3 separate regions of the Homo sapiens genome follow, and regions 1 and 2 are each linked to region 3. Evidence: promoter capture Hi-C in human tissues and cell types (Jung and others, 2019). All regions are on one chromosome and are shown on one strand. The core of a region is centred on a gene start or on the middle of the fragment in contact, and the rest is flanking DNA. Distances in the headings are between cores, read along the strand shown.

Region 1 (4,495 bases), core at 797-3,296, 760 kb after region 3:
CCCGCCTTGGCCTCCCAAAGTGCTGGGATTACAAGTGTGAGCCACCTTGCCCAGGCTCTTTTTTTTTTTTTTTAACTACTTCTTAAGGAGCAGGGCTACACCATAGGCAGTGTGCCTAGAGTAGCCCAATATCCCTTTTGTGCCAAAAGAATCTTTTTGAGTTTAATAAAGTAGGATTTTTTTTTTTAGGAAAAATATTAAAAGACATTCTCAAGCATAAACTTGCAAACTAGAGAATGCACCAACGGATAAACATGAGGAATATTAAATTGCTGAAATGAATAGAAATCCCTGTGGGAACGTTGTCTTCCACTGCTCTCTCCTGTAACAAAGCAAAAGGTAGCAAATCTGCTGATGGCTTGACTTCGTGAGTCATGTAGCCTCCTTCCCTGCCCTGGTTTTGGTGCTAACCGTGCCCTCATCTCTTCCAAAAGACATTCAGCTTCTGACTTGAGATTGCACAGGTCAAAAGCTTTTCAGTTCACTCTTAACTCCACAGTGGTTTTATTCTATCACATATTTACACAGGGATTTCACAAAGTACTCTTGAAAGCAAAGCATAAGCAATTTATCGTACACAACAGGATTTACTTAGTACTGAGCAGGCATTTCTTGTGACCTTCCTGTAAACGTTAAAAAGTGTTGTTGTTTTTAGTCAGTTTGCTTGAGGTAGATATTCATAGGGAATCATTTTGGGTCATATGATCGCTAGAAGAAAAGCTATTTTCAGCAACTTAGGACAAGGCTGTAACTGAAAAGGGCCTGCCTGCTCACTGGTATCAAGTCCCCGAGGAAGGCAGCTTGTGGCTGTTTTCTTCTCTTGGTCCAGCACAGTTTGCAGAGAAGCTTCTGGAAGGACTGAGACCACCAGATAGCAGTCATCCTTGGGGATGGATATTTATTGTTTGCCTGTGGGCTAAGTTGATTGGCCAGACACAGTGCCTGTAATGCCAGCACTTTGGAAGGTCAAGGTGGGAGGATCTCTTGAGCTCAGGAGTTAGAGACCAGCCTGGGCAACATAGTGAGACCTCATATCTACTAAAAAAAAAAAAAAAAAAAAATCAAAAAAATTAGCTGGGGGTGGTGGCATGCACCTGTAGTCCCAGCTACTTGGAAGGCTGAGGTAGGAGAATCACTTGAGTGTGGGAAGTCAAGGCTGCAGGTGCCCTGATTACACCACTGCACTCCAGCCTGGGCAACAGAGCAAGAACCGGTCTCAAAAAAATTAATTAAAAAAATAAAATAAAAAGTAAAGTTTGTTCATCTACTTTATTGTTGATTATTAAATTCTAGGTAGGTGTGTCCAGTGCATTTTGTTTATCACTTCTAGGCAATATTCACTCATTGCAAACTCTGTGCTAAATCATAACACCCATAACATCCAGGCAGCTGGATACATTTCAGTTCAACTGGCAATTGGTCGTGCACAATTTGTCATGTGCCAGGCACTCATTGAACCTTTCCACAATCCTGCAAGGCAGGAATTACACCCATGTTTACCCAATCCAGAAGCTAAAGCCTAGAGATTTATGCAAGTCCACTCACTAGTAAATGGTAGGGGGATTAAATTAAAACTCAGGTCTTCTCACTCCACTGCCTCCAAAACAATTAATGAAACCTGCCTGTGAGATAAGGAAATGGAAGCACAGAGGTCAAGTGACCAAGGACTCTTAAACGTAGGCCACTGGACTTTCCATTCTTTGTTGGACACAGTGCAAACACGTCTAAGACGTAATCTATTTGGAACGTTAATCTGTTGTTAGCAAACTTTTCAGAAATTGTCTTTATTTTCTATTTCTCTGAAAGAAAGTAGGGCATTGTTTCATTCGTACTTGTAGGATTTTAATTGAGGGAGGGAACTGAATGGTGACATAGAGAGGTCAATGCCATTGAAATAATTTACACTTAGGATTCCCTAGAGATGGGGGCACATGGGGAATGCCAGGTTTGGTCAGGCGGCAGAAGCAAGAACAAGGGGAAAGGTCTAGATCAATGCCGTTGTTGGGGTTTCTTTGGGAAAGCCAAGACAGGCCACAGTGAACCGTTCGGGACTGGCTAGTTTGAGTTTACGGGTGGTCTCTAGTTGCCTGGGGCCTGGTCCTGGGATGATTTAGGGCAAGGGAAATACTGGCTTGCTGTGTGAGATTAGATAAATGGATTGAGTGGCTTGCATAGGAGGGGCATTCCCAAGCAAGTTGTTACTATCTTTAGGTATTGGCTAGGCCTGGGAAGGACAGCAGTCTCTCCCCAGATCTGTAAGGCCCCCCTGAAGATGTCAAAACAGACCAGGTGTGGTGGCTCACGCCTGCAATTCCAGCACTTGGGGAGGCTAAGGCAGGAGGATTGCTTGAGTCCAGGAGTTGGAGACCAGCATGGGCAATATAGCAAGACCCCCATCTCCACACACACAAAAACATTCTTAATTAGCTGGGTGTGGTGGCATGTGCCTGTGGTCCCAGCTACTCAGGAGGCTGAAGTGGGAGGATCTCTTGAGCCCAGGAGGTCAAGGCGGTGGTGAGCCTTGATCATGCCACGGCACTTCAGCCTGGGTGACAGTGAGACCCTGTCTCTTAAAAAAAAAAAGAAAAAAAAAAAGAAATCAAAGCATAAGATACAGAAAATAAAAGAAACACATTCCAATCTATGGTAATACAGTTCTAGATGGTATTCTCTCCCATTGAGCAACCATTGCATTTTACCACTGCTGTTAGCCTATGTCCAGTTTGATTCTTTGAAGACCTCTTGGTTGAAGGAGATAAGTTTAAAGTTGTACCTACCTGATTAATATTTGGAAATTTGTTAAAACATAGCTTTTTCAGCCCAGCGCAGTGGCTCACACCTGTAATCCCAGCAATTTGGGAGGCCGAGGTGGGCAGATCACCTGAGGTCAGGAGTTCAAGACCAGTCTGGCCAACATGGTGAAACCCCATCTCTACTAAAAATATAAAATTAGCCAGGCACGGTGGTGCACGCCTATAATCCCAGCTACTTGGGAGGCTGAGGCAGGAGAATCACCTGAACCCGGGAGGCAGAGGTTGCAGTGAGCCAAGATCGCGCCACCGCACTCCAGCCTGGGGGACAAGAGCGAGACTTTGTCTCAAAAAAAAAAAAAAAAAAACCATAGATTTTTCATGTGATTCCAGATAGCCAAATACAGTGACCTCCTTGTTATCTACGGTCTTACCAAGCAGAAATCTATTACTCGCTATCCACAGTTAGCCAGTGCAAGGACAATAGATGTTCTGAATAACTGTCTTGAGATACTGCAGAATCTTGAAGTTCTCTGAGTCATAAAGAGAATGAACATTTTTTTAAAAATCATCTAGTGAGAAGTATATTTTATCATATTAAAAATCTTTGAAAATTGGAAAGCCAAGGATGTTACTCATTATTTGATTAACTGGAATCTTCCACCTCCTGATCAGCCTGGAAGAAAGATAGAATATATTTTTGAAATTCATAGATTATTAACATAGTTCATACATTTTCTAACAAATGAGTATCATGTTAGGGAAAAATCTAAAAAGAAAATAAGTTTTCATATAGATGTCCGACATCATAGAGCTTAAATGGATTCAATTTTCAGCGAATCTGTTGACATCCTTTTGATTTCAGTACCGTACCAGCATTTGAGGCTTCATATGTCTACCTTCCTTTTCAAAAGGCAGCCACTCATGAAAATCATGACAATCAAATGGTAAAAGATGAGCAAAAAATAGGAACAACTTACTTGCGAAAACACCTCTTGTATGCAGAATGGAGGTAGTATCAAACTATTATGAATTTATAGGATCTTATTCCACACGCTGTCTCAGCCTTTGTTTTCACAGTTAACATCTGCAGCAGATGATGTTCACACATGTCCACATGCCTCGGGGACACACCTCCTGTGGGCTTTCCCCATTACACTTACCTTTTTCACCCACTCAAGGAAGCTTATTAGAATGCAAGTAAACGAGAATGGCATTATGATGTTATAAGCCAATACAATTTTAGAACAAAAATCAAATCATTCCCAAGTTCTGTTGAGCTCTAATAGATAGCAAGCTATTTGTGATGCACCCAGACACTGATCTGGGCACCAGTATACCCTGCTCCTGTAGTTGAGAACATCTAAGAATCACAACTCACCTTGGAAAGTTTATTTCACTGATCCACACTTAAATCTCTCATTCACTCAACAATTATCTATTGAATTTGTACTAGAAGCTGGAGGAACAGCTGCTTTCACAGTTTAAAAGAAAATCACAGATGGGTAAAATGGTCATCATTATTAACATGATCTGTGTGTTGAATTTGATAAGTGCTGACCATAACATGTTGTACGTAAGTGTTTCATAGCCAATGGCATTGATGAAAGAGCTGGATCCATGAAAATTCCAAGGGGAGTTCCCATTTTATTAATTTGGCAAACTGGCCATCAAAGCATTTTGCTTGTAGCCATAGCTCTCTTTGGAAGCCTGTGATAATTGTGCTGGATAGGAGGCAGCGTGAG
Region 2 (4,503 bases), core at 1,961-4,460, 650 kb after region 3:
TTCCTGGTTTCTCCTATGGCCAAGTGTTTAAGGGTTGGATTTAAAGATAAGCATTTTCCTTTTACACAGAGAAGAATTCTCCACTGACTATTTATGTATTTATGACAATGACTATCAGTAGTACATGCTACCTAGCAGATATTTTCCAAAAAACAAAACATACTTAATCTGTCTTTTCAAAATAAAGATAGCACTTTAATAATGAGTAAGAAAGCAACCACTTTTCAAAGACTACTTGTACTATGAGGAGAACATTTGAAAAACTGTATTTGGAAATGTTTCCATTGTTCCATGATTTTGTTGCTGAAAACAATGTCTATTAAAAACATTGCTTATTTTTTAAGTCATTATCTATATAGTTTACAAAATGTTTAAAAACATGAAAAGACTATTCCAACCAATCTAAGTCTTCTGAACAAAGAGCTTGAAAAACTGAATTTTAAACCTAATTGTGTGTATATATGCAATGTCAATTAGCCATAATAGAAAAACTAATTGAGATCAGGAATGAAAGGAATGTCATTGCTGAGTTCAACAAAATTCTTTGCATAATTGATCATTTAGAATTGAAACAGTAGGAGTACAGCAATTCTTCAATTAGCATCAGTTTTTCCATTAGGATCTGTGAATCTCCGAAGGTACCTTTTTTTCAGTCATGTAAGTCATTAAAATCAAGTATCTGGCTGGGTCCTATGGCTCATGCCTGTAATCTGAGCACTTGGGAGGCAGAAGTGGGAGGACCACTTGAAACCAGGAGTTCAAGACCAGCTTTGGCAACAAAGCAAGAGAATGAATCCTCTACCAAAAAAAAAAAAAAAAAAAAATCAAGTGTGAAAATAAACTGAATTTGGAATCAGAACTCTGAACAGCTGTATCTAAGGGTCACACTAAGATTTATCCTAACCATCAACACAGCACATGAAAATAAATCAGCAACAGCAAATGTTTACTGGATGCTTTGACATTATCATTTTAGTTTACAAAACCCGCCCATCAAGAACAAAACATCATCCTCAGATTAAGTTTAGTAATAAATCATTTTGCCAATGATTCTGAACTCAAACTATAAAATTCAAATATCACTACCTCTGATTTCCCATAAGGACTAAATAAAACCTCACAAATGAAAGTGCCTAGTACAATGCCTGACATAAATACATACTCAATAAACATTAACTGCCTTTCTTTTGATCTTAGGCCATGTGATGTAATACTTGCTAGATGTGTGATGGGGCAAACTGCTTAACTCCATCTGTAAAATGGAAATATTAATGCCCACCTTATAGGGTTAAAGTCATTAAAGGATAATGCATACAAAGCCCTTCCACCCACAAAAGGCATTAATAAATCCTGAACCCTCTTTTTTCAAGATAACCTATTCATAACTGTATCAAAAGTATAGAATCATGGGTTGTTGAATTCAAAAATATCCTTCAGAATCCCTATCTTTTGGAAGAATTACAGGAATACAATACCATAAGACGGACGACACAGAGATGAAGTGTGTGCTCCATTAGTGTTTACTGAACTCAGGTGAATTGCTAAGTCCATTATCACTCGGCTAATTGTGGCGGTCTGGAGAGTCTCTCCAGGGGTAGGACTCTCACCTCCTGGTGAGCGACTGGGTCTTACTGCTCTCAAACCAGGGCTCTTTCCACTATCTTGTGTCCTCTCCCTAGTTTATGTCAGGTACATACTGATAAAATTATATACTGATTTATAGTCTCTAGCACAAATTCGCTTAAGGGTCATAATAAGGTATTTCCATAATTTAAGATTTTCTGTGGCTAAGGAAGTAAGGGTTGGGCAAAGGGTAGAAGTCACTCTATTCCTGTCAAACCCAAAAGTGAATATACTTTAAGTAAAATGCTATGCATTGAACACACAAATGCAGGTACGACTGCATGTGGTGAGTCGAAATTCAGATGAAGCACCTGTATAGCAATGAGTGAATTCACAGCCTCTAGATGACAAGTAGAAGGCAGGTTTTAAAATGTCTGAAAATTGCAACTTCAGCGCTTTTGCAACACCTGCTTTTACGATCTGTCACGTGGAGCAAAGAGGCATAACTCAACAGCACTACTAGGGCCAGACGACCATTCACAGGCTGGATACACAAACCTATCTTGTAAACATATAATCAAGCAAAAGCAGGCAAACCGGCACAAGAGGCCTTCACCTAACTTTCTTCCAGATGGCAAACGCTGCACGATGACAAACAAGGCAAACATGGTGCGCAAGCAGCCAACCCAAAACAAATAACTAGGGATTCTGACATCCAAAGGTCCTCTTCATCCTTAATCCTTCCAGAATGTCATCCCACAAGGCAGGGTTTGTTTGCCACAAAACCCTGCGGCCCCTCACATCCCGAGGGACAGTTCTGGTCACCTCCTCCCACGGACCTATTGAGCCTGCTTCACAGACCCCCGAAGCACTGACTCAATTATTCCCACAGTGTAGATTCCATTACATCTGTTAAAGTTTCCGGAACACGTGATTTAGGAGAGCAAACTTGTTAGAAACAGATTAAACAACACTCTAACACATTTCTCTGAGCCGTGTCACACTCGGGTCCAAACAATTCCCAAGGAGGGACTGACTGTCACCAATCTTGGATGGCACTGGTTCAAAGCGCCCTAAAGAGGGGAGCGAGCCCCGCCCGGCTCGCCGCCGGCAGCTCTTACCCATTTGTCCAAGGGGACCTGGGCGAGGGACCCGGTGCCTTGGTACAGGTCCAGGCTGAGCTGCTCCAGGCTCAGCTTCTCCTGCAGAAAGTGGCCCAGGTACCTCTGCAGGAGGTACCGGCAGGCCCTCTTCTTGATGGACTCCGAAAACGGCCAAGGCATAGTGACTGCTGGCAGCTGGGCTGACTGCGGCTGCGGGTTGCGACGGCTCCGGCCTCGGGGTAGCGACTCCGGCTCCAGGCCGCGGCGGGGCCTAAGCCTGGGGCGGCCCCTCCATCCCTATTTGGTGCCGGGAGTCCCTCAGGGAGACCCCATCGCCGGCGCCGCACCGCTCGCGCTGGGCCTGGCGGAGGCAAGACGCAGAGGGGTCCTCCTGGCCCCAGGCCAGGGGACTTCCGAGGAGGGTCCCAACCGGCTCGGAGAGAGTGCAAGAGAGCGCGAGAGGAGGCGGCAGGGGCTGAGGCAGCCACCGCCACTGCCGCCGCGCGACGAATTTGTTGTCATCCGCGAGGCGCGTTCCCGGCTGTAGGGACGCTCCTGGCGCGTTCACGAGACCCAGACTCCCGGCGCGCCGCCGGGCGCTGGCGGAAGTGACGCCACACTGGGGCCGCGGAAGGCGGGCAGAAGGGCGGGGGCTGGAGCAGTTCCGGCTCCGAGGGGGCGGGGCGGAAGAAGGCGGGGAGGGAGGGGGCGGCACCGCCGGTCGGCTCCAGTCGCCTCCGGAGGAAGGAAGAAGAGGACGCCGGGCGCGCAGGTGAGCGGCAGCCGGGGTGGCTGCGGGCGAGGGGCGGCCCCCGAGAAGGGCTAGGGGCTCGGGGCGCCGGCGGGCCGTCAGGCCTTCCGGATGGGGACGCGACGCCATGCAGCTGGCTGGGCCGAGAGGGGCGGCAGGCTGCAGGGGCCCCGCGCCCGTGTTAAGAGGGGTCTGGGGGCCGGTCTGGCCGGCCTGGCTCTCCCGGCTCCCCTCAGACCTCGGCGCCCCGGAAACGCACACTTGGGGCTCCGCCGTCTCCGCTGGGAGGACTGGAGCCCTTCTCGAGCATCCCCGCCCGCACCCGAGCATTGACCGGTGCCCATTGTCAGCAAGTTCTTCGGCCCCCGCCTCATTCAGGTATTGTTTCTGAGGCAGCTTCTTCGTTGCCGTTTGCCTGGCGGTTTGCAGAGCGCTTCTCGCATACGCTCGCTTAATCCTGGGTGTGTCATAGCAACGATCAGGAAACTTGGGTTTTCGAAGCATCTGTGGGCAAAACTGCATTCCTTGAGAAATGCTAAAGGCTCCTGACCCCGCCGGAACCTGGGTGAAGAACTTGGGCTGTTCTGGCAGTCTGCGCAATCGTATTTCTGCCTTTTGGGAGGTAACTCCTGCAGAGGCGGAGCCGGCTGTTAAGTTAAGTCAACCTCGAAAGGCCTGGGTGCGGGTGTTCTATGGCCCAGAAGCCAGATGTCCTTCGTTAGAATCCCGGCACTGACACCTATTAGCCGCCCAGCCACTTTGAGCGGCCACTGCCCTCCCCGAGCCCACGTTGCCTCCTTTGCCGAGTGTGAGCGGATTAAAATCTTATGTGCATGGATTTGTTGGGAAGATTAAATGATATGAGTAGGGCACGAACCTGAACAGAGTCCTGAAACATACAGCTGTTTAATCACAGTGAATTAAGACGACCAGTTTAAGGAGTGAAATGTTTACTGTCTCGGCAACTTTCATGAATGCCTTGGAAATACAGCCCAAAATATTGGTAGATGGAGAAACATCTGGTTCCCCTTTCCACAACCACCTTTTCGTTTTAGAACCAGGGTACTTTGTATGCAGTTGCTTGGA
Region 3 (4,361 bases), core at 613-3,112:
CGGTATCGTCCATCAGGGTAGAGCTGCCACATGATAGGCAGCAGGCTTGGGCCTATCTGGGTGGGGGTCATAGGCCTCCCCAGGACGACGTCTTCCCGACGCAAGAGCACCCGTAACTGTAACCTATCCTTTATCTGAGGAGAAGAAAAGGACAGGGCATACTTTCAGGTTCCGCTTGCCAGGGCTTCTCCAGGCGCAGAAAACCGGAATCCCTCCTGCCAGCCATCCACCCATCTGGGCAGGGGTCCGAGTGTGAAATGATGGTCATCACTGTTCCCTGAAGCTCACTTCCTTAGGCCATGCATGCTCCTCTCAGGGACTCTGGCTGGGCCAGGACCACCAGCACACACACGTGTCTAGCCACCCAGACAGGGCCATGAAAGGCACACTTTTTTCTGGCGGGTTGCAGCGGCTCACACTTGTAATTCCAGTGCTTTGGAAGGCAGAGGCAGGAGGATCGCTTGAGGCCAGGAGTTTAAGACCAGCCTGGGTCACAGAGCGAGACCCTGTATCTACAGGAAAAAAAAAAAACAACAAAGAAAGAAAGAGAGAAAAAGAATACTGGCCTTTTCAATGATGTGAGGCAAAATCTGTCCCACAGTTTGCTAGTGGGTTATTTTTTGTGGAGCATGTATCATGATTTTATGAAAAACTGTCTGGTTCGTGGTTTTGGTGTCACGTTGAAGAAGAGATTTCTCAGAGATTTAAAAAAAGAAATCCACTGAATCTTCAAATTATTTCTTCAAATTTTGATTTTAAAAAAGTAAGTATTTAACTTGATTTTTAAAGTAAAAACATATTTAAAAAATTGAAATGCCAATAAAAATGCAGATTTTGTGGTGGTTAAGAGCCTAGAATTCCAACCCCATTACCTACTAGCAATCTTACCTCGGACAAATGTACATTTTTGTGCCTCAGTTTCCCATCTGTAGAGACACAGTCAACACTCAATAATTTTTGATTGCTACTGGACATACGTGTTCTAATATATTTTTTAATTTTTATGCTTTCTTCAGTGTATGTTTGGAGAGAGTTTGAACATTTTTTGACTCTTTTTCATTGAGTAAATCCAAATACTTGTAAAAGACTTATCTATTTCTTTAACAAAAACTTAACATGGATTAAGGACCCATCTTAAGGCATCACACATTAAAAAAGTCAATATTGATTCAATACCGGCGCTTATACTACGACATCACTTGTTAAATTTGTTTTCTAAATAAAGCCCAGAGGTAGTGGAAAATACTTCACACTCTAGGCCAGTGTTTGCTATGCCTGGTTGACCCTAAACTGTTGAGGGTTCTTTTTAAAAATACAGATTTCTGGGACCCACCTGAGATGATTCCGATAATCGGCCATATGGATGAGTCACTTAGAGATACCCATTTTTAAGGATTAGGACCCCGAAGCCCAGAAAATGCCTGCTGTAGTCAACATTATAGTCACACTCCACAGGCACTGGGTCCACCCCTTTGACCGACATTCCTTTGCGGTTTTCCCACCCTTCTTCCCTGCCTGGAGAACTCCTATTCATCCTCCAGAGCCCGGCTCAAAGTGGCTTCATCTGTGGGGATCCTCCCTGCCCCATAGTGAGTGCTCCTTGAGTCCTCGCCCTTCCTAGGGCATCCCAAGCTCCCAGGGGCTGCCCCTGCTGCCTCGCCATCCGCTCCAAAGCTGGCTGTACCTCGATGGTTAAGGGCAGCCAGGCGTGCTGCTTCTCGTCCAAATACACGAACTTCTCCCAGGCCCACAGGCGGTCCGGGTGGTCGGTGACTGCCTCCCCGAGTGTCGGGCACTCGGCCATGGCGTCCTCGGGCCGCCTAAGAAGCAAGAGCCAGAGCCTCTCAAGGCCGCTCGCTGGTCCCTGGGATGTGGGGCCGACCCTTTATATCCGGGCAGCATGCGGCCGCCACCAAGCGGCGGGGCGGGAGGACGGCCTTGGGGCGGGACCCCGGGTCGGGAGAACGACCTTGGGGCGGGGCGTAAGGCAGGATGGGGCGGGGTTTGTGGGGGTCTTGGTGGCAAGTGAGGGTCCCGCGCAGGCGCTACGTCCCGGCCTGACTTGCTCCCTGGAACGGTGGCAGCTCCTGGGAACGCAGACCCGGCCCCAGCTGGCCCGCGCCTTCCTCGAGGCCCCGGCCAGCAGCGACACCGACCGCCGCCCTCTGCTGCTGCTGGAGAGGCACCGGGGTGACCTTGGCCCTTTCTTCTTCTGGAAGACCCCCCCGCTTCCCTCGGCTGCCGGACCGGGACTCTGGGCCTCTGCTGGGAACTCACAGTCGACACCAGGATGCCCAGAGCCAGGACCCACTCCTCATCTTATGGGATCAGAAGAGACCCGCGCGGGCCTGAGTTAGGCCTGGGCTTTCCCGGGTTCCCTGGATCTCCACCAGCCTGTGCCTTTGAGTGTCAGAGTACGTTTTTTGGCAAAGGACAACTCCTGACGCTCCCTCTCCCTCTTCCATACACAAAGCATGCGTTTTCCACAGGTCTGATGTGCTGTGGACATCTAATAGCTATTACAAAATGGAGAATCATGGGTTTTTGCCCTTGGGCTTTGAGTTTACTAGTGAAAGCATAGTTCGAAATGAATACTTAAAAAGAAATCCCTCCTTCCACCCTAAGATCAATGGATTTGAAAAGTGCCTGGTTTATATGATCAAAACCACCCCTCTGTAAATTACAAGCAATAAGGAAAACAATTTCACTTTATTTTGCAGTAACGCATTCCCACTAAGGCAATTAAGAAAGTCATGCACAATGAAAAACATGTGAAACCAGCTCCAGCCTGGTTCAAACATCACCATGGGATGGAGTTTGGTGTCTCATCTTCCAGCTCTTTCCCAGTTCTCTGACCAGGCACTAAGAACATAATTTGTGATCCTTTGAAATATCACCAAAGTGGAAATTAAGAGATCTGATGAGGACATCTGATTCACCTGGCAGCTGGGTATCTGCCTCTTTGCCTATCCAGAGAGCCTAATTCCCAAGAAGGGGCTGAGAGGGCCTAAGGTAGTCGAGACATAATGGGATTTACCAGGAACACAACATAGAAGAGAAAAGCCAAGGGAAGTTGGGGGTGGAGTGAGGGCCCTTGAGCTCAGCAAACCTCTTTTCCACTGTAGCCCTTAGTGGTGTTAATATTTAATATGCAAACTTAAAGGTTTCATGCTGATTTTCCTGTGAATGGCTCTTGACTCCAGACCTAGATAGCCACAGAGCAAGATGACAAGCTCGCTAATAAGCTCTGTTGGGGAGGTCTCAGCCCAGGCCAGAGCTGTGAAGTGAGAAATAAGTCCAGTTTAAATAGTGCTGCTGGGATGGACTTTTGTGGCCAGGGAAGGGGTACCCAGGAGCCAGTGTGGCCACTGACCCAGCCTCATCAATGGCCCTAGGATCCAGAATGCCACAAACAATGGAGCAAGAATCAGATCTGTGTGTCTGGGTAAGCAGAATGTTCTGAGAATATAATTCCTTTTTCCTTCTTTTGTAAGAACAATTTATTTCTTCAGTTTTGCATGAGGGCTTCTTAATATTGAGCAAGAATATACATCATTATTGCGTGAGATTTAGAAAATTATTTGAGAGAGGGTTCCAATAAATGAAAATGAATTAAGGATGTCTGTGGAGTTCATTGGGCAACTTATAGAGCCCTTGAGCTTTTTTAAGTGAACATTCCACAAGAGGGGAAACAGTAGCTATTGCATAGTCTCAGAGCTGTCTCTGAGCCTCCGTGGCATGTTATCTGCCCCATCTAAGGGTTATAAAGGCCATAAGCCTAGCTTTAGAATTTTATGTTCCTTTCCAAGTCTTTGTTAGTCTGATTTCCCTGAGGATAAGCAAATGGATGTTTCACACAGAAAGCTACAGGAAGCAATCATTTTGACAGAATCCTTAATGGATGCGTTCATGTCCTGATTTAGATCTAGTTTTGCCTTTACCACGATCACCTGTGAACTTGACAAATCCTTTGCAACTTGGCCTCAGTGCCATAGTTTTGTAATGAATGGGGCAAAATACCTGCTCTCTAAGCTTGTTTCTAACTCAGTAGGCCCCAATCCTCCTATAACATTGCCTAGTGGGAGGAGGGAATAGTTAAGAAAAGAGATGGACAAAATATATGATGTTAGTTCAGGAATGCCTACAGTTTTTGGTACAGTGGCTGTAGATCAAGGACCCCAGTGGAATTCATGGGAGCCATTCTTCTTGTTTGGGTTCCAAAGAAGGGGTTGAGGAGTAGTCAAGGCCATCAGGATGACCTTGACTCAAAGTGTTGTCCCTGGACCAGCTACAGTAGCATCACCTGGAGCTCGTAAGAATGACAGAATCTGGAGCCTCCCCCAAGACTACTGAGTCAGAAT

The links. Contacts are between HindIII fragments. The study calls those that stand out against the background at their distance.
Region 1: a fragment that was not itself captured here is called in contact with the fragment with the promoter of TCL1A in region 3 in 1 of the 25 tissues and cell types used here (lymphoblastoid cells).
Region 2: a contact is called between the fragment with the promoter of ATG2B here and the fragment with the promoter of TCL1A in region 3, in 1 of the 25 tissues and cell types used here (mesendoderm cells).

What each region holds. Positions count from the first base shown.
Region 1 is chr14:96,473,407-96,477,901 of GRCh38, forward strand. All of the region lies in intron 14 of AK7 (adenylate kinase 7), which reads left to right. Among named protein-coding and RNA genes, the nearest start is that of PAPOLA-DT, 27 kb to the right of the region's middle. RefSeq lists a silencer at 632-832. The HindIII fragment of the contact is 5,148 bases long and covers 1-4,495 here.
Region 2 is chr14:96,360,131-96,364,633 of GRCh38, forward strand. ATG2B (autophagy related 2B) reads right to left here and starts at 3,211. Exons shown (of 42, transcript NM_018036.7): 1 at 2,685-3,211. The coding sequence starts at 2,846. It overlaps GSKIP (GSK3B interacting protein), which reads left to right and starts at 3,396. Exons shown (of 4, transcript NM_016472.5): 1 at 3,396-3,438. RefSeq lists enhancers at 1,771-1,840, 3,082-3,376, 3,297-4,117 and a silencer at 3,319-3,668. The HindIII fragment of the contact is 16,004 bases long and covers 1-4,503 here.
Region 3 is chr14:95,712,263-95,716,623 of GRCh38, forward strand. TCL1A (TCL1 family AKT coactivator A) reads right to left here and starts at 1,863. Exons shown (of 4, transcript NM_021966.3): 1 at 1,685-1,863; 2 at 1-134. The coding sequence starts at 1,804. It overlaps LOC107984703 (a long non-coding RNA gene), which reads left to right and starts at 3,221. Exons shown (of 3, transcript NR_148060.1): 1 at 3,221-3,445. RefSeq lists enhancers at 1-23, 64-223, 264-483, 1,598-1,647 and a silencer at 1,878-2,117. The HindIII fragment of the contact is 10,029 bases long and covers 1-4,361 here.